Linked DNA regions of Homo sapiens: region 2 is linked to region 1. The links are contacts of gene promoters, found by promoter capture Hi-C in blood cells and fetal thymus (Javierre and others, 2016). All regions are on one chromosome and are shown on one strand. The core of a region is centred on a gene start or on the middle of the fragment in contact, and the rest is flanking DNA. Distances in the headings are between cores, read along the strand shown.

Region 1 (2,597 bases), core at 98-2,597:
GAACTCTTTGGCGGAGGGCATTTCAGAGACCTTAAGGACTCTCAGTGAAATGAGACACTATCAAAGGCTGCCAGATTATGTGGTGGTAATTTGTGCATCGAAAATCAGAGGAAATGAATTTTGTGTGGTAGTGTTAGGTGAGTAATTTTTTTGTTTTTTGTTTGTTTAATCAATTCATTCGACCATTTTTCCATTTAAAAATGTGTGTTATGTGTTTCAGGCATCCACATAATCAACCTCTGATTAATTGCTGGAGCTTGGGCTCATCCTCCTAATTTTAACTTTCCCTTTCCTTCTCAGATCAGGTTTTGTGTAGCCCTCAGTTTGGCTGGTGCCCCTGTCAGCTGGTTGTGGGAGCATTATTTCAAAGCTCTCCCTAGTAACAGATACCCCTGTCTCATGTAACTGCTGTCCTTTAAAGATTTTGGAAATGTTACTACTCTAGCATGTGATAAAGCCAGTGCCACAGGTGGCCTAAGCCAGTTAATCGAATTTGCCAGAAAATTAGCTCATATATTCCCCTTCTCACTGAACAGTCTATTTAATATTGTAACATAGTCTCTAAAGAAAAGATTCAGAAAGTTGGTACACTACAAAATTGGGGGGTGGGAGGGGATTTTTGTTTGTTTGTTTTGCACTGTGCAGATTTTCTATCAGGCACCCTCTTGGGTAGCCATTTGGACTACATTTTGCTTCTCTCTTCTCTGTACTGAATGGCTCTCACCTCTTCCAGCAAAGAAGCTAAGAAAACCCCCTCACTTTGACAAAACCTGTCTGCCCATTTTTCTGTGCTACATGTATTTCCAGAAAGCTTCATCAGTGTGATACATTAATATTTTTTCATTTTTATTTGTAAAAAACATGTTTATATTTTTAAAGCAAATTCATTATAACCATGCAAGCACAATTTTTATAAGGTTTTTCATACTCTTCCCTAGTCTGTTTTTCCCCCATGTTCTCAGCCCCTGGGCATCTGCCCAATTGGCCAGCCCTGGGGCAGCCATGGTGTTGCTCACAGCCCCTGGCGGGGACAGGGACCTTCCTTAGTCATTAAACACAAACGTGCATATTTTCAGTTACATAAGGTACATCATTTTGTTCCCCTGATCATCTGTATTATAAACATTTCTGTTTCTGTCTAGAGTCAGAATTGATATTTCAAATGCTATATAATTGTCCATACCTTTTGATGTGTCATAATTTTCTTAACCCAAGTCCCTATAGTGACATCCTTTGATTGTTTCCAATTGTTGCCATTATAAGTAATGTTCCAGCAACATTTGTTCTGTTGATGAGTCTTCTCTTCTCTCCTCCATCCTGCAGGTCAGCACCAGTCCCGAGCTCTGGCAGAGAGCATGCTCACCACAAGTGAGTTTTTGAAAGAAATTAGTTATGAGCTTATCACAGGAAAGGTCAGTTTCCTGGCATCACATTTCAAAACCACATCATTAGGTGAGTGGTTGTAAGATTTGGCAACACTGGCAGCCCCTAGTTGTATGATTTTCTGAGTTTAAATCTTAGCCTGTCAAGATGAGTGTGGAGCTCAAGCTTGCCAGCTGATCTTTCATTTGAAATGGTTTATCCTAAGTATTTTGTCACTAACACCACAGGAAGCAGTAAGGGGGTCTAGAGGAAGGCCCATTGGTACTGGATTCAAAAGTCTCAGCTCAGCCACAACCTTGTTGAGTGACCTTGGGCGAGTTTCTCTCTCCCTGGAACTCGGTTTGTTCGTTCGTTCCTTCCTTCCTCCTTCCCTCCCTTCCTTCTTTCCTTCCTTCCTTTTTTTTTTTTTTTTTTTTTTTTTTTTTTACAGTGTTGCACTCTATCGCCCAGGCTGGAGTGCAGTAGCGTGATTATAGCTCACTGCTTGACACCACCCCTCTTCACGGGCTCAAGCGATCCTCCCACTTCAGCCTCCCAAGCAGCTTGGACTACAGACATGTGCCACCATGCCTGGCTAATTTTTTAATTTTTTGTAGAGACTGGGTCTCCCTTTGTTGCCCAGACTGGACTCCAGCTCCTGGCCTCAAGCAATCCTCCTGTGCCTTGGCCTTCCAAAGTGCTGGGATTACAGGCATGAACCACTGCGCCCAGCCTGGAACTCAGTTTTCTAATCCCATTCTGTCTGCTTTTGAGTATTAGGGAAGTCAAGAGAGATACAACATGTGAAAGCATGTAAATTATAAGCACTATATCAATGAGAGTAGTTCTTGATATAGAGACACCAGTATACTATAAAGATGGCCAAGTGTAAATGCTGATATGAATTGCTGGCTGACCAACAAATCTACTGAGAACAGCCTAACTGCCCAACTTGGGCAGTTAATAAAAATGAAACAAACATATCCTTCCTTGTAACCTTCTTATCTCTATTTTGTAATAGGCGATGACCTAGACAAGCTGCTGGAAAAAATGCAACAAAGAAGAGGAGACAGTGTGGTTACCCCTTTCGATGGAGACCTTAATGAATGTGTGTCACCCCAGGAGGCTGCTGCTATGATTCCCACACAAAACCTGGGTAATGTCATCTCAGACCAAGAGGAGGAAGTCAGTCCTTGGGACAGACATTGTAAAAACTAAGTCATTCTAAGGGTTTT
Region 2 (4,209 bases), core at 644-3,143, 520 kb before region 1:
CCCCATAAAAACTACACCAAAGCATTCTCAGAAACTTGTTTGTGTTGTGTGTACTCATCTGACAGAGTTGAACGTTTCTTTTTACACAGCAGTTTTGAAACACTCTTTTTGTAGAATCTGCAAGTGGATAATTGGATGACTTTAAGGATTTCGTTGGAAACGGGACTATATTCATGTAAAATCTACACAGAAGCATTCTCAGAATCTTCTTTGTGATGTGTGTCCTCAACTAACAGAGTTCAACCTTTCTTTTGATACAGCAGTTTGGAAACACTCTTTTTGTAGAATCTTCAAGTGGATATTTGGATAGCTCTAACGATTTCGTTGGAAACGGGAATGTCTTCATATAAAATCTGTACAGAAGCACTCTCAGGAGCTACTTTGTGATATCTGCATTCAGGTCACAGAGTTGAACATTCCCTTTCTTAGAGCACGTTTGAAACACACTTTTTGTAGTATCTGGAAGTGGACATTTGGAGCGCTTTCACGCCTTTGGTGAAAAAGGAAATGTCTTCCCATAAAAACTAGACAGAAGCATTCTAAGAAACTTCTTTGTGATATATGCACTCAACTAACCGAGTTGAACCTTTCTCTTTATAGATCAGTTTGAAATGCTCTTTTTGTGGAATCTGCAAGTGGATATTTGGATAGCTCTGAGGATTTCGTTGGAATCGGGATTACATATAAAATATAGACAGCAGCATTCTCAGAAGCTCCTTGTGATGTTTGCTTTTAAGTCACAGAGTTGAACATTCCCTTCCATAGAGCAGTTTTGAAACACTCTTTCTGTAGTATCTCTAAGTGGACATTTCGAGCGATGTCAGGCCTATGTTGAAAAAGGAAATAACTTCCCATAAAAAGTAGACAGAAGCATTCTCAGAAACTTATTTGTGATGGGTGTCCTCAACTAACAGAGTTGAACGTTTCTTTTGATACAACAGTTTAGAAACACTCTTTTTGTAGTATCTGCAAGCGGATATTTCGATAACTTTGAAGATTTCGTTGGAAACGGGAATATCTTCATATACAATCTAGACAGAGGCACTCTCAGAAACTGCTTTGTGATGTCTGCATTCAAGTCACAGAATTGAACATTCTCTTTCATCGAGCACGTTTGTAACACCGTTTCTGTAGTATCTGGATGTGGACATTTGAGCGCTTTGACGCGTACGGTGACATAGGAAATATCTTCCCTTAAAAACTAGACAGAAGCCTTCTCACAAACTGCTTTGTGATGTATGTCCTCCACTAACAGAGTTGAACCTTTCTATTTACAGGGCAGTTTTGAAAGACTCTTTTTGTAGAATCTGCAAGCGGATATTTGGATACCTTTAAGTAGATTTCATTGGAAACGGAAAAGTCATTCTCAGAAACTTCTTTGTGATATGTGTCCCCACCTAACAGAGTACAACCTGTCTTTGGATACAGCAGTTTGGAAACACTCTTTTTGCAGAATCTGCAAGTGGATATTTGGATAGCTCTGACGATTTCCTTGGAAACGGGAATATCTTCATATAAAATCTAGACAGAAGCACTCTCAGGAGGTACTTTGTGATATCTGCATTCAAGTCACAGAGTTGAACATTCCCTTTCATAGAGCTGGTTTGAAACACTCTTTTTGTTGTATCTGGAAATGGATCTTTGGAGCGCTTTGCCGACTTTGGAGAAAAAGGAAATATCTTCCCATAAAAACTAGACAGAAGCATTCTCAGAAACTTGTTTGTGATGTGTGTACTCAACTGACAGAGTTGAACGTTTCTTTTTACACAGCAGTTTTGAAACACTCTTTTTGTAAAATCTGCAAGTGGATAATTGGATGGCTTTAAGGATTTCCTTGGAAACGGGACTATATTCATGTAAAATCTACACAGAAGCATTCTCAGAAACTTCTTTGTGATGTGTGTCCTTAACTAACAGAGTTCAACCTTTCTTTTGATACAGCAGTTTCGAAACACTCCTTTTGTAGAATATGCAAGTGGATATTTGGATAGCTCTAACGATTTCATAGGAAATGGGAATACCTTCATATAAAATCTAGACAGAGGCACTCTCAGAAACTGCTTTGTGATATCTGCACTCAAGTCACAGAGTTGAACATTCCCTTTCTTAGAGCAGGTTTGAGACACTTTGTAGTATCTGGAAGTGGACATTTTTAGCGCTTTGACGCCTTTGGTGAAAAAGGAAATGTTTTCCCATAAAAACTAGACAGAAGCATTCTAAGAAACTTCTTTGGGATATATGTACTCAACTAACAGAGTTGAACCTTTCTATTTATAGGTCAGTTTTGAGAAGCTCTTGTTGTGGAATCTGCAAGTGGATATTAGGATAGCTCTGAGGATTTCCTTGGAAACGGGATTACATATAAAAAGTAGACAGCAGCATTCTCAGAACCTTCTTTGTGATGTTTGCTTTTAAGTCACAGAGTTGAATATTCCCTTACATAGAGCAGGTTTGAAACACTATTTCTGTAGTATCTGGACATGGACATTTCGAGCGATTTCAGGCCTATGTTGAAAACGGAAATATCTTCCCATAAATACTAGACAGAAGCATTCTCAGAAATTTCTTTGTGATGTGTGTCCTCAACTAACAGAGTTCATCCTTTCTTATGATACAGCAGTTTTGAAACACTCTTTTTGTAGAATATGTAAGTGGATAGTTGGATAGCTCTCATTATTTCATTGGAAACGGGAGTATCAACATAGAAAACCTAGACAGAAAAATTCTCAGAAACTGCTTTATGATGTCTGCATTCACGTCACAGAGTTGATCATTCCCTTTCATAGAGCAGGTTTGAAACACTATTTCTGTAGTATGTGGACATGGACATTTCGAGCGATTTCAGGCCTATGTTGAAAACGGAAATATCTTCCCATAAAAACTAGACAGAAGCATTCTCAGAAATTTCTTTGTGATGTGTGTCCTCAACTAACAGAGTTCATCCTTTCTTATGATACAGCAGTTTGGAAACACTCTTTTTGTAGAATATGTAAGTGGATAGTTGGATAGCTCTCACTATTTCGTTGGAAACGGGAGTATCAACATAGAAAACCTAGACAGAAACATTCTCAGAAACTGCTTTATGATGTCTGCATTCACGTCACAGAGTTGATCATTCCCTTTCATAGAGCAGGTTTGAAACCCTCTTTCCGTAGTATCTGGATGTGGACACTTGGAGCGCTTTGACGCTTACGGTGCAAAAGGAAATATCTTCCCATAAAAACTAGACAGAAGCATTCTCACAAACTGGATTGTGATGTTTGTCCTCAACTAACAGAGTTGAAACTTTCTATTTACAGAGCACTTTTGAAAGACTCTTTTTGGAGAATCTGCAAGTGGATATTTGGAGAGCTTTAAGGATTTCATTGGAAACGGGAATATCTTCATATAAAATCTAGACAGAGGCATTCTCAGAAACTTCTTTGTGATGTGTGTCCTCAACCAACGGAGTACATCCTGTCTTTTGATACAGCAGTTTGGAAACACTCTTTTTGTAGAATCTGCAAGTGGATATTTGGATAGCTCTAACGATTTCGTTGGAAACGGGAATATCTTCATAAAAAATCTAGACAGAAGCACTCTCAGAAACTACTTTGTGATATCGGCATTCAAGTCACAGAGTTGAACATTCCCTTTCATGGAGCAGGTTTGAAACACTCTTTTTGTAGTATCTGGAAGTGGACCTTTGGAGCCCTTTAATGATTTTGGTGAAAAAGGAAATATCTTCCCATAAAAACGAGACAGAAGCATTCTCAGAAACTTGTTTGTGATTTGTGTACTCAACTAACAGAGTTGAACCTTTCTTTTTACAGAGCCGTTTTGAAACACTCTTTTTGTAGAATCTGCAAGTGCATATTTGAATGGCTTTAAGGATTTCGTTGGAAATGGCAATATCTTCATGTAAAACCTACACAGAAGCATTCTCAGAAACTTCTTTGTGATGTGTGTCCTCAACTAACAGAGTTGAACCTTTCTTTTGACAGAGCAGTTTTGAAACACTCTTTTTGTAGGATCTGCAAGTGGATATTTGGATAGCTTAGAGGATTTCCTGGGAAATGGGAATATATTCATATGAAATCTAGACAGAAGCATTCTCAGAAACTTCTTTGTGATCTTTTCATTCAACTCGTAGAGTTGAACATTCCCTTTCATAGAGCCAGTTTGAAACACTCTTCTTGTAGTATCGGGAAGTGGACATTTGGAGCGCTC

What was found. The method cuts DNA at HindIII sites, captures the fragments that hold promoters and counts their contacts. A CHiCAGO score of 5 or more calls a contact.
Region 2: a contact is called between a fragment that was not itself captured here and the fragment with the promoter of GREB1L-AS1 in region 1, in 11 of 17 cell types (activated CD4 T cells, non-activated CD4 T cells, M2 macrophages and 8 more). The highest score is 9.4, in activated CD4 T cells.

Annotation. Positions count from the first base shown.
Region 1 is chr18:21,449,700-21,452,296 of GRCh38, forward strand. It overlaps GREB1L-AS1 (GREB1L antisense RNA 1), which reads right to left and starts at 1,348. Exons shown (of 4, transcript NR_187982.1): 1 at 1,184-1,348. It overlaps GREB1L (GREB1 like retinoic acid receptor coactivator), which reads left to right. Exons shown (of 33, transcript NM_001142966.3): 12 at 1-137; 13 at 1,324-1,452; 14 at 2,384-2,518. It overlaps LOC124900410 (small nucleolar RNA SNORD23), which reads right to left and starts at 1,057; the gene lies at 954-1,057. The HindIII fragment of the contact is 737 bases long and covers 810-1,546 here.
Region 2 is chr18:20,932,669-20,936,877 of GRCh38, forward strand. No RefSeq gene overlaps it. Among named protein-coding and RNA genes, the nearest start is that of ROCK1, 180 kb to the right of the region's middle. RefSeq lists enhancers at 446-1,053, 1,054-1,659, 1,660-2,267, 2,268-2,873, 2,874-3,481 and 3 more. The HindIII fragment of the contact is 5,772 bases long and covers 1-4,209 here.